2 separate regions of the Homo sapiens genome follow, and region 1 is linked to region 2. The links are contacts of gene promoters, found by promoter capture Hi-C in human tissues and cell types (Jung and others, 2019). All regions are on one chromosome and are shown on one strand. The core of a region is centred on a gene start or on the middle of the fragment in contact, and the rest is flanking DNA. Distances in the headings are between cores, read along the strand shown.

Evidence for each region. Contacts are between HindIII fragments. The study calls those that stand out against the background at their distance.
Region 1: a contact is called between the fragment with the promoter of CRLF1 here and a fragment that was not itself captured in region 2, in 2 of the 25 tissues and cell types used here (dorsolateral prefrontal cortex and lymphoblastoid cells).

The regions. Positions count from the first base shown.
Region 1 is chr19:18,604,826-18,611,897 of GRCh38, reverse strand. CRLF1 (cytokine receptor like factor 1) reads left to right here and starts at 5,099. Exons shown (of 9, transcript NM_004750.5): 1 at 5,099-5,356. The coding sequence starts at 5,242. RefSeq lists an enhancer at 5,059-5,977. The HindIII fragment of the contact is 9,492 bases long and covers 1-7,072 here.
Region 2 is chr19:18,958,174-18,965,460 of GRCh38, reverse strand. It overlaps the pseudogene RN7SL70P. Among named protein-coding and RNA genes, the nearest start is that of HOMER3, 21 kb to the right of the region's middle. The HindIII fragment of the contact is 4,315 bases long and covers 2,881-7,195 here.

The sequences.
Region 1 (7,072 bases), core at 3,850-6,349, 350 kb after region 2:
ACGGGGCGGCAGCCTCGCAGGGTCTGCGGGTTAGAGGGCGGCTCAGGTTTCGGCCTGGGAAGAGGGTGTCCCGGGTGGGGGCCCGGCGCACCCCCTACTCTGGCCTGCGGCCGCGCTTTCATCTCAGCGGCCCCCGGCCGGCCCCCACGTGGCTTAATCAGGCGCGGCTGTGCCTGGCGGACCCCGAACATCTGGATCCCGGTGCGGCCCCTCCCCCGCCCCGCCCCGCCCCTCCCCTCCCCTCCCATGCTAGGCCGCTGCGACCCGGCGGCGAGGGCCTCCAGCCCGCAGTTTGCGCCAGAATCCAGCAGGAGAATTCCGCTTCTAACCCACCCGCGCGCCAGGCCCGCACCTTGGGAAACAGCCCTGTGCGTTATGACCAATACTGTCCCCCATTTCACAGGTGGGAAACTTAGGCTCCGGGACGCGTTGGCAAAGTCAGGATTCAAGCCCACACATGCTAATTCCAGAGGCCCGCGCGCGCCTAACCCCTCCACAATTACTGTCTTTCATTCATTCCAACGAAACACTTTTTCTTGCAACAACCGTATAAGACAGGTACCGGTAGCGTTGCCCTTTTATATGGGTGAGGAAACTGATGCTCAGACTGCAAAGTGGTTCTGTCCAGGTGACAGGGAGAGAAGCAAAGAAAAGCCGGCAGAGCCCTGCCAATGATGGGAGGTGACCTTTGGGCATTGCTTAAAACGCATCAGGGAGGAGGGACACCCCGCGCCCTTTTGCAGAAGGAGAAACTGAGGCTGGAGGAGTGGGTCGATCACCCAGGTCGCCTGAGGGGAGAAGGGAAAGAGGCTGATTGCCGCACACCCAGCCCCCTTTCCGCTGCACTAGGCCGCTGGGGGGGTGAGCGGAAAGAGGACTTGACCCCGGCCCCCAAGGTGAGCCCCCGCGCCCCTCCTGCTGTTCCCGGGGGAGCCGGTCCAGGTGAGGGGCGGGAGGGCCGGCGGGCGGCCAGGGTCGGGTTTCAGGAAATCCGCCGACATTCCTTCGGGGCTTAAGAGGGAAAGTTGACTCGGCGCCGCCCTCGCCCCCCCCCCCACTTCCTACCCCCCGGGGCGGCCTGGCTGGGGGCGGCAGGCGGGGGGCGCTGAGGCCGGCCTGGGCGTGAATCAGCGGCAGGCCAGGCGTCCGGGAAGCCACAGCAGCCGAGGTCAAGGCGGGCAGCGGACAAGCACCCTTTGTCCCTTGCCGCCCTCACCACGACCCTGCTGACCCCCACCTCCAAGCAGGGTACAGGCCAGGGAGGAGGCAGAGCACCATGGCGCCGGTGGTGGTTGCTGAGGGTTGTTGGGGGAGGACGGAGGGATGTGGCTGTCCCCCTAAAGCAGCTGGTGCCTCCTGGGACCCAGACTTCAGAGGCTTCTCAGGGTACAGACGGGCAGGGAAACTGGCCTCCCTGGGGCAGGCCTGCAACTTCCCAGGCAGGTCCCCTAGGCAGGTCTGCAACTCCCCAGGTCCCGCCTCCAGTGCCTGAAGTCCAGTGTGCATTACACTGAGCACCCAGGCATTGCTTCTCCCCAGGCTCAGCCTCCAGGGCAGAAATTATAAAGCCTAGGTACACACGGGCCCCACTTTCCTGTGCCACAGACCCTGAACCAGGTGTCCAGACCCTCACTGCCCCTTAATTCCTGAAAGCACCTGCCTGGAACACCAGGTAGCTAATCCCATACTGGGGAGCCCTGAGCACGGGGCTTTCAGAATGGGAGAGACAGCTCTCAGCCTTCCTCACTCCCAGTGGTTGTGGGTCCCCACAGGACCCTGAAGGTGCCATTTCCACTGCCCCCTCCCTGGTGCACCCTCAGTGCCCTGGAATCACGAGGGAGCTGGGGATGGAGGCCCCCCCCCCAACCTAATACCTCTCATCCAGAGGTGACCTTGGAGTGGAGGGTGCAGGACTAAGGAGGGGTCCCTCCCCCAGCCCAAGGGGAGGCCCTCCCTCTGCCCAAGGGGAGGCCCTCCCTCCTTCTGCCCCTTACACATTCCCAGCCAACTTCAAGGACTTGGGTCAATATTTGCCAGAAGTTCCATTGACGCTAGCTCCCTTTTGTCCTCAAGGAGATAATGGAACTGGGGAGTAAAGGGTTAAACTTCTGGGGGCCCTAAGGGCCGGGAAGGATGCACTCTGGGGTCAATTCCCTTTCCCTGAAGTCAAAGGTGTGGGGTAAAGATCACCCAAGGGCAGAAGTCACACTCCAGGGTGGGGCTGGGCAGGATTGGAAAATGGTCCTTCCCTTCTGTTGGTAAGAACAAGAGAGGGATGTCTACTGGCTAGGGTCACACAGCAAGACACAGAGTGTGGGCCAGGCTAGGACCCCAGGCAGCATGACTTGCTAGGACTGAGTTTTCTTGCTACTTGGAGGGAGTAAGAGTTCTCCATCCTTTACTTTTACAAATATTTAGTGAGTGCTTCGCTTTCAGCCCTCACTGGGCCCACCACTGGGGTCCAAAGGGGCTGAGGCTGCCCACAGTCTAAAGAAAATCAGTTGCACAAGAAATGAAATGGTTGGAAGAGTTGTGTTTCAAAAACAATAAAACAAAGTGAAGGAGAGGGAGAGTGCTGGGGGAAGGGTGGAGGGCCTCTCTGAGGAGGTGGCACTAATCCTGTGAAGTGATGGAAGAGAAAGGGCCAACTGGGGAAGATGTGGGGAACAGCATTCCAGCAGAGGGAACAGCCAACACGCAGAGGCCCTTCTATAGTAACAAGCCTGGTATGTTTTGGGAAACAGGGCTCCAGTGGCTGGGGCGGAATGAGGGAGAGGAGGGGGAAGAGGAGAGGGAAGAAGAGGAGGGGAGAGGATGGCGAGAGGGTGGCAGGACAAAGATCTGCTTTTTCTTCTTTTAAAAGCTCCCTCTGCCTGGTGTGCCGAGAAAGGCAGAAGGGTTATCAGGGAGGCCCTGGAGGAGGCCGGGAAGCATCCCTGAGGGAGACCGTGGGGCCTGGATCTGAATGGGGTGGGAAAAAGGGGTCAGCATCTCAGAATGGAGATGTGTTTTAGAATCAGAGCCAACAGGATTTGCTGATGAATTGGACATGAGGGATGAGCAAAGGAGAGAGTTGTCACGTGCGCTTCCAGGTCTCTGGCCTGAGCACCTGGATGGATGGGAGAGCCCTTTCCCAAAACCAAAATGACTGGAAGAGAAGCAGAAATGGAGGGAGGAAAAAATCAAGGTTTTGCTCCAGAAGCCTGAAGTCCTCCCAGGAGGGAGTGAGGCGTCTCTATCCACACAGAGAGCATCTGCAGACAGGAGCCATGGGGGAGTAGTGGTGAGTATCCTAAAAACTCAATTCCAGCCAAGGACTGCCACCTCCACTTAACCCTCTGGGTCCCCTGGCAGGTGGGACTATGGCTCCATGTTTCAGAGGGGACAAGCAGGGCTGGGGGTCACCTCTGCTCCAGGATATCCTCCAGTGCTGTGCTAAGGGCTTGGATTGTAGAGACTTCTGCTGCCCTGCGTCTTCCCACAGAAGCTCCTAGACTGGGTGGTGCCCACTGTGCAGAGGAAGAAACTGAGGCACAAAAGGCCTGGTTTCCCGAAGTAAATGGCAGCGTCTCTCCTTGTCTGTCTTCTCCATCCAGAATTCAGATGGAGCAGGGGCGCCCTGGGCCCCTATAGGCTCCCATCCCCCAATCTTGTTTTTTGACAGTCTGGAGTCTGAACTGGAGATTTAAGTAGGAGAGGGTGGGGCTTCAGTCTTGGGCAGACAAATGGGGGCTCCTGAGCCCCCCTCAGACACTTTTACCCCCTTGGCTGGTTGGGGACCAGGAGAGAGAATCCAGGCCTCTAAGGGACTCCTGGAAAAGGGGACTTGGAGCCGTTCCCTTCCCTGGGCGCTGCAGCTGGGGGCGGGGCTGCGACCAAAAGTGGGTAATTGCACCCCCCAACTCTCATTTCAGGCACCCCCATCCGCAGCAGCCTTGGAGGCCAGGAACCCTTTATTCCTGGGCGCCCGCATCGGGTGGGGACCGGGAGGAGGGAGATGAGACGCCCGGACCGGGAGGGGTCCCGAAACTCGAGCAATGGCCAAAAATAATAACACGGAGAAGGCTCTTTGCGCAAAAGAAGGAAGACAAACTATGCGTCGCTCCGGGCAGCCGGCGTTACCTGGAGTCGGCGGGCGGTGGCCGCCGAAGCGATTACTCACCGCGTGGCGCACCCCACCCGCGGGCCGCTGAGTGGATTTTTCCGTGGCGGGGTGTGAATAGGTCCCGGGGAAAGAGCTTCTTACCGCTCTCCTCCTGGGAATCCCTCTTACTGCGGTGCGGGACCCAGTTCCCGCGCAGGCCTGGGTCCCGGCTCCCACAGGGGACTACATCTCCCCGTCTGCCCACGCAGGAGCTCCCTCCCGAGGCCCCCGGGGCGCCCAGAGCAACCTCAAACCCATCCCGCGCGCGAAGGGGACAGCGCAGCCAGGGCGAAGGCGAGGGACTCCGTGCCTTCCTGCTTTTTCTCCTTTCTTCCAGCAAAGCCTGGGGCCGAGGCTACTCGCGGAGAATCGAAAAGAGGCAGGATGAGGTGGGAGGGCTGGAACCCGCGCGCCGAGGGCGTGGGGCTGGGGGTGACTTTTAGGCCCCTGGGAAGGCTGAGGGGCTGGAGATGGGGGTAGGCGGGACTCAAGGACCGCTCGGTGGGGGGGGCGGGGCCAGAGCTGGGGTGGGGGCCGAGACAGAAGATTGGGCCGTGGAAGGGGGAATGGAGGAGTGGGGCAGGGTTGGGGACCAAAGGGGCCACTGAAGAGGCACTGGGCTGAGAGGAGGGTGCAGGGAAGTGGGCAGGGTTATGGAAACGGGATTGGGGGTGCCGGGTCCCAGACTGGGGGTGGGAAGCCTGGAGCTGGCAGGGTTGGAGAGGGAGGTCCTGGGCCGGTAGGGGTTGAGTTAGGGGGCTTTGGGCCGCGGGATAGGGCGCGCGCGGTTCTCGGTGGGGCGGAGGCGGGACGGGCGGGGCGCGCGGTGCCCGCGGGCGGGCGGGCGGCGGGGAGGCCGGTGCGGGGCCCGCCGCCCCCCCGGGGCCGGGCCGGGCCGGGGGCGGGGCCGGGCGGGGCCAGCGGCGCATTAGCGCCTTGTCAATTCGGCTGCTCAGACTTGCTCCGGCCTCCGCGTCCGCGCCCAGCGACGTGCGGGCGGCCTGGCCCGCGCCCTCCCGCGCCCGGCCTGCGTCCCGCGCCCTGCGCCACCGCCGCCGAGCCGCAGCCCGCCGCGCGCCCCCGGCAGCGCCGGCCCCATGCCCGCCGGCCGCCGGGGCCCCGCCGCCCAATCCGCGCGGCGGCCGCCGCCGTTGCTGCCCCTGCTGCTGCTGCTCTGCGTCCTCGGGGCGCCGCGAGCCGGATCAGGAGCCCGTGAGTACCCGGCGCCCCACTCCTTCCCCCCTGCCAGAGCAGAGGGCGGGCGCCCCGGGGGCAGCCGCGGGGGGAGGGGGCGCGGGCGCCACCTGGACGGCCGGGGAACAAAGGAAGGCGCCCCCGGCGCAGCCCTCGGGGCGCCCTCACCTGCGGGGCACACGGCGCCGCAGTCCACTGTCCAGAGAGTCCTGCTTCCGCGCCCGAGGCCCTGTTACCTGGGCAGCTGGGCCGAGGGCGCCAGGCCAGGCCCCCGGGGGCTGGGGGGATCGCGGCCTGAGACCCTCTGCATGCCAGGACGTGGCGGGCGCACGCGTCTGCTTCGGTGGACTCTGGGCCCCTGGGACTGCAGGGCACCGCTCCCAGGCGGGGGCGCACGCGGTTGGCGCGCTGGGTGCGGGCCCCCAGCGGGCCCCCCCAGGCGGAGGGATGAGCCCCACGGGGAGGGCGGGGCTGCAGGGGGGCCGCTCTGGCCGCCTGGCGCGCAGCCCGGGGTCCCGGGGGACTTGTGTCTCCACGGGCCGGCGCCACCGCCCTCCCCCTGCGGGACCCGGCGCACGGGGGTCCGCGGAGTCCCCGCCACCGGCGGCGCTTAGAACCGTTTTCAGCCAGGCTGCGTCGGGCGGAGAGCCTCCAGCGAGAGGAATCTTTGTGAGCGAGTGGGTGAGAGGGAGAGGGAGCGGGAGCCAGTGAGTCCGGGCACCAGCGGGCCCAAACTTTGAGGGGGCCCACTGGGAACCCGCTGCCCTACGGGCCAAGACCCCTGCCCTGGAGGGACTTCTGGCCTCAGGCACTCTGGGGCCCCCCATCCAAGGAACACCCCCGCAAGGATACGTCTCCGTATGCAGACCCGCTCTGGGACACACCCAGAGACACACAAAGAATCACACTGGCTTGTGGCCCGTCACCCTCGCCCTCAAACTCGCGCACACTGCATCCCAGGTGCACATTCGCGCACCATCGCGGACGCACACACATTCCATCCCCGACACACACATTCACGGTCACACACATCCCACAGGGGAGGCGACCCAGGGGCACAGAGGCAGGCACCACTCGCCCCAGATGTTCAGTCACTCCACGCACCCCATCCAGGCGCACGGGCCACCCCGGGGGTCGCCGGGCACACACTGCTCCCAGGCTCATCCACCCTGTGCTGGGCTGTTTGCGGGCTGCCTGTAGGGCTCCTCCGGGAAGGGGCAGGGTCCGGGCATCTTCTAGGGGCACTTGCTGAAAGCCTGGCTCTCCCCTGGCTTTCAGGTGAGGGGCTACCTCGGGCCCTCCCAGGGCCCCTGACGGCTCTGCCAGGCGGTGGGCAGCGCCTGTGAGTGCCACTGTGAGCGCCAAGCTTTGTTTTCAGCCAGTAGAGCAGCAGGCGAAGGTGTAGGGGGTGGGGGGGCACTGTAAGTGTGTTTTTTCCTTTAAGGGGGGAAGAAATTAAATAAAAGATTCTCACACCTCGGCAATATGTTTCTACTTACGGTGTGTCTTAGCACCTGACCAGCAGGCGGGTGGGTCGTAAAGTGTCTGCAGGTACCAGCGGGACGGGAGATGGGGACCCCCGTGGGGACCCTGGGATGGAGGCCACCCTTCCGCCCTGCTTGCAGAGAATCTCACACTTTTCCCTTTTAAAACACATGGTGTTCCTTTTTAATAACGGCAGTGGCTCCAGATTGGGAAAAGAGGAGAGAAAAAACTTTTAAAGGCCCCAGCTCT
Region 2 (7,287 bases), core at 3,789-6,288:
CCAAGGTGGGCAGATCACGAGGTCAAGAGATCGAGACCATCCTGGCCAACATGGTGAAACTCTGTCTCTGCTAAAAATACAAAAAATTAGCCGGGTGTGGTGGCAGGCACCTGTAATCCCAGCTGCTCGGGAGGCTGAGGCAGGAGAATCGCTTGAAGCCGGGAGGCGGAGGTTGCGGTGAGCCAAGCTCGCGCCGTTGCAATCCAGCCTGGGCAAAAAGAGCTAAACTCTGTCTCAAAAAAAAAAGAAAAAAAGAAAAGAAAAAAGAAATGAGTTGCGGCTGGGCACGGTGGCTCACGCCTGTAATCCCAAAACTTTGGGAGGCCGAGGTGGGTGAATCACAAGGTCAGGAGTTGAAGACCAGCCTGGCCAACATAGTGAAACCCCATCTCTACTAAAAATACCAAAATTAGCTGGGCATGGTGGCACATGCCTGTAATCCTAGCTACTTGGGAGGCTGAGGCAGGAGAGTAGCGTGAACCTGGGAGGCAGAGGTATCAGTGAGCCGAGATTGCACCACTCCACTCCAGCCTGGGCGACAGAGTGAGACTCCATCTCGTAAAAGAAGGCCGGGCACAGTGTCTCACGCCTGTAATCCCAGCACTTTGGGAGGCCGAGGTGGGTGGATCGCCTGAAGTCAGTAGTTTGAGACCAGCCTGGCCAACATGGTGAAACCCCGTCTCTACTAAAAATACAAAAATTAGCCGGGCATGGTGGCACACGCCTGTAATCCCAGCTACTCGGGAGGCTGAGACAGAATTGCTTGAACCAGGGAGGCAGAGGTTGCAGTGAGCCAAGATCGTGCCACTGCACTACAGCCTGGGTGACAAGAACGAAACTCCGTCTCAAAAAATAAAAATTAAAAAAAGAAAGAAATGATTTGGGGGGCTGCTTTTTGTTAAAAGAGAAATTCCCAGGACTCTTTTACCCTCACTGTCTGCCAAAATAATTTCTATCTCCTGTATCACGACCACAACCTCCCAAAGTGCTGGGATTATAGGTATGAGCCACAGCACCTGGCCCCAGCTCATTGTTTTGTTTTGGTTTTTTTCATTTTTTAAAACTCATGATCATTGTTCAATGCATTATTATTATTATTATTATTTTGTTGTTGTTGTTGTTGTTGTTTGTTGTTTTGGTGTTGTTTTTTGTTTTTTGAGACGGAGTCTCGCTCTTATCGCCCAGGCTGAAGTGCAATGGCGTGATGTCATCTCACTGCAACCTCTGCCTCCCGGGTTCAAACGATTCTCCTGCCTCAGCCTCCCCAGTAGATGGGGTTACAGGCACCCGCCACCACGCCTGGCTAATTTTTGTATTTTCAGTAGAGACTGGGTTTCACCATGTTTGCCAGGCTGGTGTTGAACTCCTGACCTCATGATCCGCCCACCTCAACCTCCCAAAGTTCTGGGATTACAGTCGTGAGCCACCAGGCCTGGCCTATTATTATTATTTTGAGACAGGTTCTCACTCTGTCTCCCAGGCTGGAGTGCAGTTGCAGTGGCACAATCACAGCTCACTGTAACCTCAAACTCCTGGGCTCAAGTGATCCTCCTACCTCAGCTTCACGCATAGCTGGGACTACAGGCACGTACCAATGTGCCTAGTTAATTTTTTATTTTTTGTAGAGACAGAGTCTTGCTATATTGCCCAGGTTCATCTCGAACTCCTGGCCTCAAGTGATCCTCTTGCCTCAGCCTTCAAAGGCTTTGGGATTTCAGGCATGAGCCACTGTGCCTGGCCAAAGGTTTTATTTTACTCTTTTTTTGTTTTTTGTATTTTAGACAGAGTCTCGCTGTGACCCCCAGGCTGGAGTGCAATGGCGTGATCTCGGCTCACTGAAACCTCCGCCTCCTGGGTTCAAGTGATTCTCATGCCTCAGCCTCCTGAGTGCCTGGGATTACAGGCACGCACCATCATGCCTGGCTAATTTTTGTATTTTTAGTAGACACAGGGTTTACCATGTTGGCCAGGCTGGTCTCGAACTCCTGACCTCAAGTGATCTGCCTGCCTCGGCCTCCCAAAGTGCTGGGATTACAGGCATGAGCCACCGCACCCGGCCTATTTTACTCTTACACACACACATACATGTATGAATACACACGTCCTTCCCATTGTTGCTCCTGGGCTCTGATTGATCATTATGAAAGCTCTTTCCCTTCCCAGACCTTACAGAAATGCACACATACCCTCTTATTATTATTATTCTTTTTTGAGACGGAGTTTTGCTCTTGTTGCCCAGGCTGGGGTACAGTGGCACGACCTCGGCTCACTGCAACCTCTGCCTCCCGGGTTCAAGCAATTCTTCTGGGTCAGCCTCTGGAGTAGCTGGGATTACAGGCACCTGCCATCATGACCGGCTAAGTTTTTGTATTTTTAGTAGAGACAGTGTTTCACCATGTTGGCCAGGCTGGTCTCGAACTCCTGACCTCAGGTGATCCACCTGCCTCAGTCTCCCAAAATGCTAGGATTACAGGCATGCGCCACTACACCTGGCTGCACATAGCCTCTTCTAGTGTTCGCAGGGTGCATATTCACATCTCAGGTCCATTTGGAATTATTATTTTATTTTTTTGGAGACAGAGTCTCGCTCTATCCCCCAGAGAGTGCAGTGGCGCGATCTTGGCTCATTGCAACCTCCGCCTCGCCGGTTCAAGCGATTCCCCTGCCTCAGCCTCCCAAGTAGCTGGGATTACAGGCGTGTGCCACCATAGCCGGCTAATTTATTTGTATTTTTAGTAGAGATGGGGTTTTGCCATGTTGGCCAGATGGGTCTCGAACTCCTGACCTCAGGTGATTCGCCTGCTTCGGCCTCCCAAAGTGCTGGGATTACAGGCGTGAGCCACTGCACCGGGCATATATATGTATATTTTTTGTAGTAGTATCCAGTTAGCCCAAAATCCACTCCCTCCATGGATTTGAAACTGCAGAGAGGGGAGGCTATTTTGGCCAGGATGGTAGCATTTAGTCGACTCCTAAAGGAGCAGTTAGTCATAGGGAAGAACTGAGAGTAGGCGGCTCAGATAGCATATGCAAAGGCTCTGGGGCGGTAATGTTGTTGCCCTGTGCAAAGACCAACTGGGAAGCCTGTGGCTGGAGTACAGTGAATAAGGGGGATGGTGGAGGGAGTTGAGGGTGGACAGGTGAGGTGTTTGGCTTTATTCTGAGGCTGTGGGGGCACAAGGAAGGGACCAGCTCTGGTGCACAAAAGGTCCCTTCCATCTCGGGGATGGCATGCCCATTCGACAGATATGGAGACTGAGGCTTGCTGAGGCGCAGACAGGCACAGACAGGAGTCAAGGATGGTGCCTCCATTTGCTGGACTAGGAGCTGAGGCCGGGGGTCCTCTCGTTTCTCTCAGTGCATGGACGACGTGACCTCGCAGCCTTATTTGTGCACGATCACCCACAGCAGGATCCTTTCATCCTGCTGGTAGCTTAGCCTCAACTGCGTGTAGCAAGAAAGCTCTTCCGCTGCAGTGCTGAGCCGCCCGCTCCGCCCAGCCCCAGCCCCAGCCCCAGCCCACCCGGCGCATCTCAGCCTCTAGCCACGCCCCCAAACCCTCTGCACAGGTGCACTTCGCCCCGCTTCCACCTGATGGGGCAGCCTGGTCCTGCACTGCCCACCCAATAAAGATAGCCCCGCCCCATCAGGCGCATCCTGGACCCAAGTCCACTCCTCCCTATGGGCCGCTGTCTGGTCCCTAGCACCGGCTGACCTTTGCGCCCCGCCTTCTTTCTATACCGTGGATGCAGGAATAGCCTCGTCCCAAAACCTGCCCCTACATGTCCTTGCCGTGTGACCCCGGGAGTATCGTTTCACCTCTGAACCTCAGCTTTCCCCTCTCTACAGTGAGTGGGGGTCGAGCCCCCTCTGTGACTCGATTGATCCACTCCTAGCAGGCTGTTGGATCGACGATCTTTGAGGATGCAGGTTGAGCGCTCAGCATATCACCGGCGCTCAATAAATGGCCTTGTTTCTTCCGTTTGTCTGGAACAGGAGATGCAGAAATAGGCAGTAGTGGCTGGCCATGATGGCTCACACTTGTAATTCCAACACTTTGGGAGGCTGAGGCGGGTGGATCACCTGAGGTCAGGAGTTCGAGACCAGCCTGGCCAACATGGTGAAATCCCGTCTCTACTAAAAATACAAACATTAACAGGGCATGGTTGTGCACGCCTGTAATCCCACCTACTAGGGAGGCCAAGGCAGGAGAATCGCTTGAACTCAGGAGGCGGAGGTTGCAGTGAGCCGAGATGGCGCAACTGCACTCCAGCCTGGGCAACAGTGAGACTCTGTCTCAAAAAAAAAAAAAAAAAGAGCCGGGCGCTGTGGCTCACGCCTGTAATCCCAGCACTTTGGGAGGCCAAGGCGGGCGGATCACGAGGTCAGGAGATCAAGACCATCCTGGCTAACACGGTGAAACCCCGTCTCTACTAAAAATACAAAAACAAAATTAGCCCGGTGTGGTGGCGGGCGCCTGTAGCCCCAGCTACTCGGGAGGCTGAGGCAGGAGAATGGCGTGAACCCGGGAGGCGGAGCTTGCAGTGAGCCGAGATCGCGCCACTGCACTCCAGCTTGGGAGACAGAGCGAGACTCCGTCTCAAAAAAAAAAAAAAAAAAAAATTATGCGGGCATGGTGGTGCATGCCTGTAATCCCAGCTACTCAGGAGGCTGAGGCAGGAGAATCACTTGAACCTGGGAGGCAGAGGTTGCAGTAAGCCGAGATCATGCCATTGCACTCCAGCCTTGTTGACAGAGCGAGACTCCGTCTCAAAAAAAGAGAAAGAAAGAAAAAAAGAAATAGGCAGTAGTTGGAGAGGGCTGGCTGAGGAAGAAGCCAGCAGGTTGGGCAGGGGCAGAAGCCGGCCCTGAACCTCAGTTTTCTTATCTGTAAAAGGGACCTTCAGGCCAGGTACAGTGACTCATGCCTGTAATCCCAGTGGTTTGGGAGGCTGAGGTGGGAAGATAGCTTGAGGCTCCCCTCACTGGACAGCTAGACACACTTCCCTGCTGGACATTCTAAATTAAATTAGCCCCCTAAAAATGTAAGACACAGGCTGAAGGGTGGGGTCCCATCTCTACCTTGCCTTCACTGGCTGCAGGTCTGAGTGCTCATGGATTTTCTTTTTTTTTTTTTTTTTGAGACGGAGTCTTGCTCTGTTGCCCAGACTAGAGTGCAATGGCACGATCTCGGCTCACTGCAACCTCCACCTCCCGGGTTCAAGCGATTCTCCTACCTCAGCCTCCTACGTAGCTGGGATTTCAGGTACGTGCCACCACGCCCGACTAATTTTTTGTATCTTTAGTGGTGATGGGGTTTCACCATGTTGGCCAGGCTGGTCTCAAACCCCTGATCTCAGGATCCATCCACCTCGGCCTCACAAAGTGCTGGGATTACAGGCACGAGCCACCGCGCCCGGACGGTCATGGGTTTTCTTGTCATTGGTGGTGTTTTGAAACAGAGCCTCACTCTGTCACACAGGCTGGAGTGCAGAGGTTGATCACGGCTCACTGCAGCCTTGATCCCAGGCTCAAGTGATTCTCCCACCTTAGTCTCCCAAGTAGCTGGGACTATCGGTGTGCGCCACCACACCCAACTAATTTTTTTATTTTTAGTAGAGATGGGATTTCACTATGATGGCCAGTCTGGTCTCAAACTACCAGGCTCAAGCAATCTGCCCGCCTCAGCCTCCCAAAGTGCTGGGATTACAGGCGTGAGCCTCGGCACCTGGCCCAGACAGTCTTTTATTTATTTATTTTCCGAGACAGGGTCTCACTGTGTCACCCAGGCTGGAGTACAGTGGCACAATCATGGCTCACTGCAGCCTCTAATTCCTGGGCTCAAGCGATCCTCCCACATCAGCCTCCTAAGAAGCTTGGACCACAGGCATGCACCACCATGCCTGGCTAATTTTATTTTATTTTTTGTAGAGATGGGTTTTGCCATGTTGCCCCAGACTGGTCTCAATCTCCTGGGCTCAAGTGATCCCCTGGCCCCAGCCTCCCAAAGTACTGGGATTACAAGCATGAGCCACGGCACCCAGCCAAATTGGGATTTATAAAAACCTTTGTCAAGAGAGTGTAGGCTGGGCACGGTGGCTCACCCTTGTAATCCCAGCACCTTTGAGAGGCCGAGGCAGGTGGATCACTTGAGGTCAGGAGTTCAAGACCAGCCTGATCAACATGGTGAAACCCTGTTACTACTAAAAATACAAAAATTAGCAGGGCATGGTGGCGCATGTCTGTAGCCCCAGCTACTCATGGGGGCTGAGACAGGAGAATCACTTGAACCCAACAGGCAGAGGTTGCAGTGAGCCGAGATTGTGCCCTGCACTCTAGCCTGGGTGACGGAGTGAGAAACTGTCTCAAGAAATTTAAAAAAAGGAGAGTTTAAATGCTGGCCAAGGACCAAGGAAACCAATCAAGGGGCCTCAGGGTTCAAGCTTTATGTTTGGGGACAATCTTAGGCCATAGGATGGGGTGACCTCCCTGCCAGCCTTGTAGCCTACTCACTTGAGGCTCAGCGGTCCCTCCCTCAGACAGGGACCTCCATTCTGTCACCTACGATGACACCTTCTTTTCTTGTGGGATCCACTGTTTGGAAACGTGTGTAATCAATCCCAGCACTTTGGGAGGCCAAGGAGGTGGGCGAAATCACCTGAGGTCGGGAGTTCAAGACCAGCCTGGCCAACATGGTGAAACCCCGTCTCTACTAAAAATACAAAAATTAGTCGGACATGGTCGTGCGTGCCTGTAGTCCCAGCTACTCATAAGGCAGAGGCGAGAGAATCGCTTGAACCTGGGAGACGGAGGTTGCAGTAAACCAAGATTGTGCCATTGCACTCCAGCCTAGATGACAGAGTGAGACTCTGTCTCAAAAAAACAAAAACAAAAACAAAAACTTTTTTTTGGTAGAGACAGGATCTTGCTGTGTTGCCCAGGCTGGTCTCGAACTCCTGGACTCAAGCGATCCTCCATCCTGGGCCTCCCAAAGTGCTGGGATTATAGGCACGAGGCGCCATGCCTGGTTTATGGCTTCTGATTTTAATCTACATCTTGCAAAGCAAATATCTCTAACATTCATTTGCAAATGTCAGACATTCAGAGAAATGGACACACTCACCCATCACTGCTGGGAGCCAAGTAAGGTCCCCTGTATGGAAGGTGATGTGGTCTTAAGTATTCATCAAAAATGCTGAAAAGCTGGGTTCAGGGATGAATGCCTGTAGTCCCAGCTACTCAGGAGACTGAGGTGGAAGAATCACTTGAATCCGGGAGTTCTGGGCT